2 separate regions of the Homo sapiens genome follow, and region 2 is linked to region 1. The links are contacts of gene promoters, found by promoter capture Hi-C in human tissues and cell types (Jung and others, 2019). All regions are on one chromosome and are shown on one strand. The core of a region is centred on a gene start or on the middle of the fragment in contact, and the rest is flanking DNA. Distances in the headings are between cores, read along the strand shown.

The links. Contacts are between HindIII fragments. The study calls those that stand out against the background at their distance.
Region 2: a contact is called between a fragment that was not itself captured here and the fragment with the promoter of ETHE1 in region 1, in 1 of the 25 tissues and cell types used here (dorsolateral prefrontal cortex).

Annotation. Positions count from the first base shown.
Region 1 is chr19:43,525,951-43,530,942 of GRCh38, reverse strand. ETHE1 (ETHE1 persulfide dioxygenase) reads left to right here and starts at 3,742. Exons shown (of 7, transcript NM_014297.5): 1 at 3,742-3,846; 2 at 4,284-4,428; 3 at 4,594-4,742. The coding sequence starts at 3,766. It also overlaps a transcript of ZNF575 not described here. RefSeq lists a silencer at 3,591-3,780 and enhancers at 4,391-4,570, 4,086-4,590, 4,591-4,992. The HindIII fragment of the contact is 5,540 bases long and covers 1-4,992 here.
Region 2 is chr19:42,454,335-42,459,233 of GRCh38, reverse strand. The region is part of intron 1 of LIPE-AS1 (LIPE antisense RNA 1); the gene reads right to left. Among named protein-coding and RNA genes, the nearest start is that of CXCL17, 14 kb to the right of the region's middle. The HindIII fragment of the contact is 7,822 bases long and covers 1-4,899 here.

The DNA.
Region 1 (4,992 bases), core at 2,493-4,992:
CCAGAAGACCAGTGAGGGTATTGTTATATATTAATTACAGTATTAATTGCTAGCACTTATTATACACTGGAAACTGTCCTTATGTGCATTAATTTATTTAATCCCCATAGCAATGTTTTAAGAGGAGGTGCTACTATCATCCTTGTACAGAGGAGGAAAATGAAGTGTGGAGGGGAAGGTCATCCCAGCCAGGAAGTATCAGAGCCAGGATTTGAATCCCTCAGCCTGGCCCTGCAGTCCAGGCAATTTGCATTTATGCTTTGCTGCCCCTTGAATGGGGCAGAGGGTGTGATAACAGAAAAGTGGCCTGGTTAAGATAGGTTAAATCTGGCTGGGCACGGTGGCTCGGCCCTGTAATCCCAGCACTTTGGGAGGCTGAGGCAGGTGGATTACTTGGGGTCAGGAGTTCCAGACCAGCCTGGCCAACATGGTGAAACCCCATCTTTACTAAAACTACAAAAATTAGCTGGGTGTGGTGGTGTGCACCTGTAATCCCAGCTACTTGGGAGGCTGGGGCAGAAGAATCTCTGGAACCCAGGAGGCGGAGGTTGCAGTGAGCTGAGATTGCACCACCGCACTCTAGCCTGGGCAACAGAGCAAGACTCCATCTCAAAAAAAAAAAAAAAAAAAAAGAGAGAGAGTTTAACTCAGCAGGGCCTGGAAGTGGGTGGAGGTGGCAAGGGTAGGAAGGAGTCAAGGATAGTGACAAAATAATGATGGGCAGTTCCCATTGAGAGCCTGTGCTATGTCAGGCTATTGAACTATTTTCAACCTCATTTTGTAGATAAGAAAACTGGAACCCAGAAGAAGATAAGTTTTCAGCCCAAGGTCCTACACCTGAGAAGGGTGAAGCCAAGTCTAACTCTTAGAACATCTCACAGCTGAGCCTATAAACCCTGCCTAGGGTGTGTCTTCAAAGGACACATAAATGGTCTAGAAATTCTGCAAAAACAACGGGAAAGGGTGCCAGGGGCGAGAAGTTCTTATTTGGGGGACCCTCTCAGTAAGGAGTGCCTGAGGGTCTTCCTTTCCCTGGCTCCTCCCTCCCCTGAGTTCCCCAAATCCCTACACCTCCCTGTGTCTCAGACCTGCTTTCCCTACCTCTCTCGCCTACCAGCCAGACTGAGTCACCTCTGGGTCCTCAGCTTTGTCTAGCTTGAGTCAGGCATGCATGAGACCTCATGCCTGGAATTTTTTTTTTTTTTGAGACGGAGTCTCGCTCTGTCGTCCAGGCTGGAGTGCAGTGGCACGATCCCGGCTCACTGCAAGCTCCGCCTCCCGGGTTCACGCCATTCTTCTGCCTCAGCCTCGAGAGTAGCTGGGACTACAGGCATCCGCCACCATGCCCGGCTAATTTTTTGTATTTTTTTTGAGTAGAGACGGGGTTTCACCGTGTTAGCCAGGATGGTCTCAATCTCCTGACCTCGTGATCCACCCGCCTTGGCCTCCCAAAGTGCTGGGATTACAGGCGTGAGCCACCGCACCTGGCCTTTTTTTTTTAGACACTCTCGCTCTGTTGCCCAGACAGGGTTTTGCTATGTTGCAGAGGTGCAATCTTGGATCACTGCAAACTCTGCAACCTCTGCCTCTTGGGTTCAAATGATTCTCATGCCTCAGCTTCCCAAGTAGCTGGGTCTACAGGCGTGCCCCACCACGCCCAGATAATTTTTTTGTATTTTATTTTATTTTTTTCAGTAGAGATGGGGTTTTACCATGTTGGCCAGGCTGTCTCAAACTCTTGACCTCAAGTGATCTGCCCACCTAGGCCTCCCAAAGTGCTCAAAGTGCCTGTGCATGAGCTCAGCCATATGCTTTTTTTTTTTTTTTTTTTTTTTTTTTGAGATGGAGTCTCCATCACCCAGGCTGGAATGCAGTGGCACGATCTCAGCTCACTGCAACCTCCACCTCCCGAGTTCAGGCAATTCTCCTGCCTCAGCCTCCTGAGTAGCTGGGATAACAGGTGTGCACCACCACACCCAGCTAATTTTTATATTTTTAGTAGAGATGGTGTTTCACCATGTTGGTCAGGCTGGTCTTGAACTCCTGACCTCGTGATCCGCCCGCCTCAGCCTCCCAAAGTGCTGGGATTACAGGCATGAGCCACCGCGCCCAGCCGGCCACATAAAATTTTAATGAAGCAATTTGATAGGCTTAAGGAAAAGCAGGCCTTCTCTGTGTAAAGGCATTCACACAGGGGCTGCTCTGAAAATAGCTCCAGGGACCATTCCCTGGAAACTCCAGAATTAAGATAAATGTTGTTGCAGGAAACCCCTCCTCAGAAGCTGTGGGACAGGATAACTCAGTGGTTCATACCTGTAATCCCAGCATTTTGGGAGGCCCAGGTGGGAGGACCATTTGAGGCCAGGAGCTGGAGACCAGCCTAGGCAACATAGCAAGACCCCTGTTTCTACAAAAAAAATTCTAACAATTAAAAAAAAAAAAAAAAGCTCTGCCCCTAGGCTGGAAATCAAGGCTGCTCTGATGTCACAAAGTGACATAGATCCTCCAGATGAGAGTGGGATGTCCTATTCTCACTACTGCTACGATTACAAAGAGCAGACTTTCTGACAGCTCATGACTTGAGACTACAGTTTTTCAGCCCCAGGTCCTTGGTGTAAATGAACACAAGCTCTTTTCAGAGGTTCACACCCCAACAGAAGATGAATAATCCCCAATCTGATTATTCAAGAGATAATGCAAAATTATCTTTTTTTTTTTTTTTAAGATTTCTTCCTGGAAAGAGAGAAACATTCCTGATAAAATGCTTATGCAATTTCTGGATGAACTTTAATGGGATCAAGTGTTGTTCTGGTAACCAGGCACCCACTCAAAAGTCCCTCAAGATATTAATGACCTGGAACCGAACGAATATCTTTTTTTTTTGAGACAGAGTCTCCCTCTGTCGCCCAGGCTGGAGTGCAGTGGCGTCATCTCTACTCACTGCAACCTCTGCCTCCCGGAACCGAACATCTTTTTCTAACCATGACTATCCTACCACCTGCTAGAAAACGGCCCCACGGGACGCGGTGGCTCACGTCTGTAATCCCAGCACTTTGGGAGGACAAGGTGGGAGGAACGCTTGAGCTCAGGAGTTCGAGATCAGCCTGGGCAACATAGTGAGAACTCCGTCTCTGCAAAAAACAAATTTTATATACATGTATGTGTGTGTGTGTGTGTATATATATATATGTATATAAATATATATATAGATATAAATATATATATATAAAATGTCGGGTGTGGTGGCAACGTGCCATAGTCCCAGCTACTCGGGAGGCTGAGGTTGGAGGATCGCTTGAACCCGGGAGTTTAAGGCTGTAGTAAGCTGAGATCGAGTCACTGCACTCAAGCCTGCGTGACAGAGCGAGACTCTGTCTCAAAATAAAACAAAAGAAAAAGGAAAAAAAACGGCCCCGAGGCTATGAGTGTACTGGGGCCTCTCCCTGGGTTTCTACTTCTCTCCCTATCTCTGTTCCTACATGAGTATGTCTGTGTGTCTCTGAGCGTCTGTCCCTCGCACTTTGAGTGTCTCCCTGTTCTCTGTTTTTTCTGGGTCTCAAAGCGTCCAGGCATTGCACTCTGGCTTTCCTCGGTCTCGCCCTCGCCCCAGTCCCGCTCGGCGGTCCCCCGCCCTCTGCCCCAGGCGTCCGTGGCCCCTTTAAGGCGTGCTCCGCCCCCGCCCCGCCCTTCCCGGGGTCAGTGCCGTAGCGCCCGGCTCCTGCAGGCGCTCGGCCTCCGCTCATTCCTGACCCCGCAGTGGGCGCGATGGCGGAGGCTGTACTGAGGGTCGCCCGGCGGCAGCTGAGCCAGCGCGGCGGGTCTGGAGCCCCCATCCTCCTGCGGCAGGTGCGGGTGGCTGGACCTAGGAGGGGACTGCTGGGCACTAGGCGGCAGCAAGGACGGAACTCCGGGGTCTCTTAATAGGGAGAGATCCGGGGGGACCCACGCCTGCATCTTGCGGAAAGCGGGGTGGAGGTTTAGGGCTGGACTCTTGGGTCCTTTAAAGGTGAGTGGTCTGGGGGCCTCTGGGCTTGGGGCCAGACCCCTGGGTCCTCTATGAAAGAACGTGCTGGGGACCCTGATTTTGGGATGTTAGGAAGTTGGAACTCTTTTGTTCTGATAGGGGAAGGTAGTGGGGCTCCGGACTCCCGACTCCCGGGGAAAGAGTGGGCTGGGGTTTCTGCTTCTGGATCTTAGGAAGAGGATAGGGTCAGTCTGGACTACTTGGCCTCCAGTGGGTGGAAGTCCGGTTCTGCGCCCTCACCTGGGTCCCCCGTTCCCAGATGTTCGAGCCTGTGAGCTGCACCTTCACGTACCTGCTGGGTGACAGAGAGTCCCGGGAGGCCGTTCTGATCGACCCAGTCCTGGAAACAGCGCCTCGGGATGCCCAGCTGATCAAGGAGCTGGGGCTGCGGCTGCTCTATGCTGGTCAGTCCGGGGACCAAACTCATGGATCCCAGCGGGGCTGGGCTGCAGCGTCAGTGGAATGGGAAGCTGGGGCCCAGAACTCCTGAGTCTGAGGGAGAAGGATCTGGGCTGGGACTCCCAGGTCCTTTCTGTACCCTCCGGACCTGTCCCTCCTCTCTCTCCCAGTGAATACCCACTGCCACGCGGACCACATTACAGGCTCGGGGCTGCTCCGTTCCCTCCTCCCTGGCTGCCAGTCTGTCATCTCCCGCCTTAGTGGGGCCCAGGCTGACTTACACATTGAGGATGGAGACTCCATCCGCTTCGGGCGCTTCGTGAGTTGGGTGCTGGGTCCCCAAGAGGGTGGTGGCCTGGACTTCTTAAACTTAAGGGAAGAGGGGACTGGGGGCCTGGGATCCTGAGTCCTTGGGGAGGAGGGACCTCAGGACCTGGGTTTCTGACCCCTGAGCTCATATTTCTGGGAGGGGGGCACCATAAACCCAGGTGGGGCACTGGGGCAAGAGGCTCTGGGCAGGTGGGGCACTGGCGGAACTCCTAAGTCAACAGCATTTAAGGAGTTTCCTT
Region 2 (4,899 bases), core at 806-3,305, 1.1 Mb after region 1:
TGAATCATAGGCAAGAGCACAAACTTTGAGGTGAAACACACTAGCTCTGCTATGAACTGGCTGGATGATGCTGACCACTCACCTCGCCTCCCTCAGCTTCTTCTCATTTGCAGCACAAAGGTGACTCTTACTCCATCAGAGGATGACAATAAAAGAGTAAATTAAGATGTGTAAGGCATTGTTCAGGCGCAGTGGTTCACGCCTGTAATCCCAGCACTTTGGGAGTCCAAGGCAGGTGGATCACGAGCTCAGGAGTTCGAGATCAGCCTGACCAACATGGTGAAACCCCGTCTCTACTAAAAACACAAAAATTAGTTGGGTGTGGTGGTGCACGCCTGTAATCCCAGCTACTCAGGAGGCTGAGGCAGGAGAATCCCTTGAATCAGGGAGGTGGAGGTTGCAGTGAGCCAAGATCACGTCACTGCACTCCAGCCTGGGCAACAGAGCAAGACTCCATCTTAAAAAAAAAAAAAAAAAAAAAAACATGTGTAAGGCATTAGACACACAGCTTGGTACCTGGTGAGCCCTCGGTAAACATTTATTTCAGTCTTTTCCTTTCACCATCCCATCTCTCTCACCCTCACCCATCTTCTTGGTCTCCTTTCTTTTCAGTGATTTGCTCACTCTAAACTACCATTTAGAAAGCGGCCACACTATCCATTCTCTTGTGATTCTGCTGGAATGTTCTTGTGATGGAGTCTGCTATCTACTCAAGACAGTCCACATTATTTATATGGAGAGGTCTGTTTAAAACAAGAAGTCCTTTTTATGTTCACATACAATTTTTACATGCTTCCTCTTAACGTACACATACCAGTCCCAATTCTGCCCTGCTAATGCATATATATCCTTATTTCACTCTTCTTCAGTCTCTTTTTTGAGACAGAGTTTCGTTCTTGTCACCCAGGCTGCAGTGCAATGGCACGATCTCGGCTCACTGCAACCTCCGCCTCCTGGGTTCAAGTGATTTTCCTGCCTCAGCCTCCTGAGTAGCTGGAATTACAGGCACACACCACCACACCCAGCTAATTTTTGTATTTTTTAGTAGAGATGGAGTTTCGCCATATTGGCCAGGCTGGTCTCGAACTCCTGACCTCAGGCAATCCGCCCCCGCTTGGCCTCCCAAACTGCTGGGATTACAGGCGTGATCCACTGAGCCCAGCCCAGTCTTTCTCTTTACATCTTGTAAATAAGGATAGTACAGGCCGGGCGCGGTGGCTCATGCCTGTAATCCCAGCACTTTGGGAGGCCGAGGTGGGCAGATCACGAGGTCAGGAGATCGAGACCATCCTGGCTAACACAGTGAAACCCCGTCTCTACTAAAAGTACAAAAAAAATTAGCCAGGCATGGTGGCGGGCGCCTGTAGTCCCAGCTACTTGGGAGGCTGAGGCAGGAGAATGGTGTCAACCCGGGAGGTGGAACTTGCAGTGAGCTGAGATCCACCACTGCACTCCAGCCTGGGCAAAAGAGCAAGACTCCTTCTCAAAAAAAAAAAAAAAAAAAAAAAAAAAAGGATAGTACCAAGACAAAAATAATGACCTGGGCCACAAGAAGGGATTCTTTTAGCACGTAAATGCTTTCTTTTAACAAGATGAACATTTTCCTTTGGCAAGATGAATGCTAATTTGCAAGGCACCCCTGAAGCCTGTTTCTAGGCTTGGGTTTCACATTCCTAGACCCCAGGGACAATAATTGTGACAGAAGCCACACCCACTGTGCGTATTCCTGCTGTTGGGTAAAGGTATTTTCACAGAATGTTATGCATGAGTTACTCCTTCCCAATCCTTCCACTCCTGGAGGTTAAGCCTCCCCCTTCACCAGCTTCATCTCCAGCTGGCCTCCCAGGACTCTGACTGGAAAATACCTCCTCACTCTGGATGCCCCGGGTGACACCTTTGTCTATTCCCATAATTATAATAGCTCACACTGATGCAGCACTCACTATCCGCCAGGCACTATCCCAAGGGGTTTCCATGTAGCTCCAGTCCTCTCAAAGAATCCTGAGTGTCACCATCCCCATTTTTACAGATTAAAAAAACAGAGGCAGGGGCCAGGCATGGTGGCTCACGCCTGTAATCCCAGCACTTTGGGAGGCCGAGGCAGGCGGATCACGAGGTAAGGAGATCAAAACCATGCTGGCCAACACGGTGAAACCCCATCTCTACTAAAAATACAAAAAAAAATTAGCCGGGAGTGGTGGCGGGCGCCTGTAGTCCCAGCTACTCCGGAGGCTGAGGCAGGAGAATGGCATGAACCTGGGAGGCGGAGCGCGCAGTGAGCCAAGATCATGCCACTGCACTCCAGCCTGGGCGACACAGTGAGACTCCGTCTCAAAAAAAAAAAAAAAAAAAAAAAAACTGAAGCAGAGAAGTTTAGTAATGTACCAAGTGTCACTCAACTCCATAATTTAACCTCATCCTCCTCCCCATCTGGGCGAGGACACCCTAAGATTTCCAAGGTGTCCTGAATGACATCCACCTTTCAGAATGATTTTTGTCCCCTCTACTCTCAGGATTTGACAAACAGCCAGCATTTTGTTTTCTGTCTTACCCTTCACTTATGTACCTGTTCCCTAACACCACACTCACAACTGCACAGCCCGGAATAAAAGCTGGCTTTTATGGACCTCAATCTCTTTTGGCAAAAAGGAAGGCCAGGTTCCCAGTTCTCCCAAAAAGTAATTTTTTTTTTTTTTTGAGATGGAGTCTCGCTCTGTCGCCCAAGCTGGAGTGCAGTGGCACAGTCTTGGCTCACTGCAACCTCCGCCTCCCAGGTTCAAGCAATTCTCCTGCCTCAGCCTCCTGAGTAGCTGGGCTTACAGGTGCGTGCCACCACACCCAGCTAATTTTTGTATTTTTAGTAGAGATGGGGTTTCACCATGTTGGTCAGGCTGGTCTTCAACTCCTGACCTCGTGATCCGCCCTCCTCATCCTCCCAAGTGATGGAATTACAGGTGTGAGCCACCGTGCTCAGCTGTAACTTTTACTGAATTGTTAACTATTTGTACAGCCATTCTCTGGCCGTAAAAGGGATGCACTAGGAACAGATAGTGTGATGAGAAGGAAGCAGGAGGAGGGTGAGTCTCTGGAATGATCACAAAGGGGAAAAGATTTCAAATCCAGGAACAGTCATAAAACACACCCAGAGTGTGTGGCCTTTGAGCAATGACAGCCCCACCTGCCTCTTTCCATGCCTAGTGGCCTCTGACTTCCTTCTCAGTTGCCCCTCCCAGTCTTGCTTTCTTAGGCCAATACTAATGGCCTGGGAAGTGGGGCCAGACCATAGCACATAGCACTGAGTGGTGAGGATGGAGGAGCTGAAGACGGAGAAGAATGATTGACTCATGGGGATCTGACTCATCCAGGTACACATCATCTGGACAGGGAATGGATTAGTGAAGGGCTGTTCAGGACTCATGGTTTAAGGAGTTGTACTAGGGAGTGGTACTTCCTCACTGCTGTCTCACTGACAGCAACAGAGTGGGTGTGGAAGGCATCACAGCTTTTTCCTACTTAAAAACCCAGTTCCTCCTTCTCCCTCTTTTGGGTTACATTCCTCTGCCCTTAGGTCACTTATTTACTCAGTTGTGTTCCAAGGGGGAAAAAAAAAAATCTCAGTTGCATTTCTTAAAGTCCCAAGCATTCAGTTCCATTAAAGAGCATCTGTCATCTTAGTGATGACCAGGTGCAAATATTTTTAAAAGGCTCTTTAGGAAATTTTGATAAGAGCCTTCACACCACCCACAAACTTTCTGGGAACCACTGAGCTATTAAAGTGCTGAGGAAAGAATCTGCTATATGCTGTGCTGAGGACCTTTATGTTTGCATCTGATCTAATGGTCACAATGACCCTTTGATGCAGGTACTCTATTACCCCTCTATTCCAAGATGTTGATAAACTTGTCCCTTATCTCAGAACTGGTTAAAGGTGGAACTGTCAAAGGATTCAAACTCACATATTTCTGAATCTAAAGCTCGTGGTTCACTCCACATCACGGTACCTACCAGAATTCAAAGAAAGGAAGGATGATTGCTTCTAACAGGAATAACTATACAGGCTTCAATGAAGAGACAGGGTCTGAAATGGGCCATAGCACAAAGAACAGCTCAGGAGGCTGAACAGGAAGGCAAGGGTATTATATAGGAAGGAGTAAAAGAATTAGAATAAGCTCAGGCATGAGAAAGTAAAATGTAGGTTAAGTCCTTCCACGTAGATCAACGGAGTAGATTGAGGCCATGCTATGGGGGCTTTAAATGGTAGCCTAAGGAGCAGGAACTTCATCCTAGATGACAGCAATCACTGGAAAGCTTTGAAAAGGTCACAAACATAACAATATGGTATTTCCAGGAAGATTACTCTTGACAGTATTATTAAGCAAGATAACTTAGAGAAGTGGTTTTCAGCTTTGGCAACTCAGTAGAATTACCTGGAAGCTTTCTTTTCCTTTCTTTAGTTTCATCTGAAATAATTTCAGACTTTCAAAAAACTTCTACAAATAGTCAGGGTCTTCATATACTTTTCACTCAGCCTCCCCAAATATTAACATTTTAGATAACCACAGTATAATCATCAAAATCAATAAATGATCACTGATACTGTACAATGAATGAATCTGTAGACCTTATTCAAATCCCCTTTATCTTCCCACTAATGTTCTTTTTCTGGACCAGGATCCAATCTAGGATCAGACATTGCATCTCATTGCTCTGTCCTCCCAGTTTCCTTTAATCTGGGACAGTTCCTCAGAATTTCTCTTGCCTTCATGACCTTAACATTTTCGAAGAGTATTGGTGAGTTATTTTGTATAATGACCCTCGGTTTGGGCTTTCCTAGTTGTTTCTCATGATGAAACTAAAGTTATATACATTGGGCAAGAATACTACAGAGGTGATGCTGCG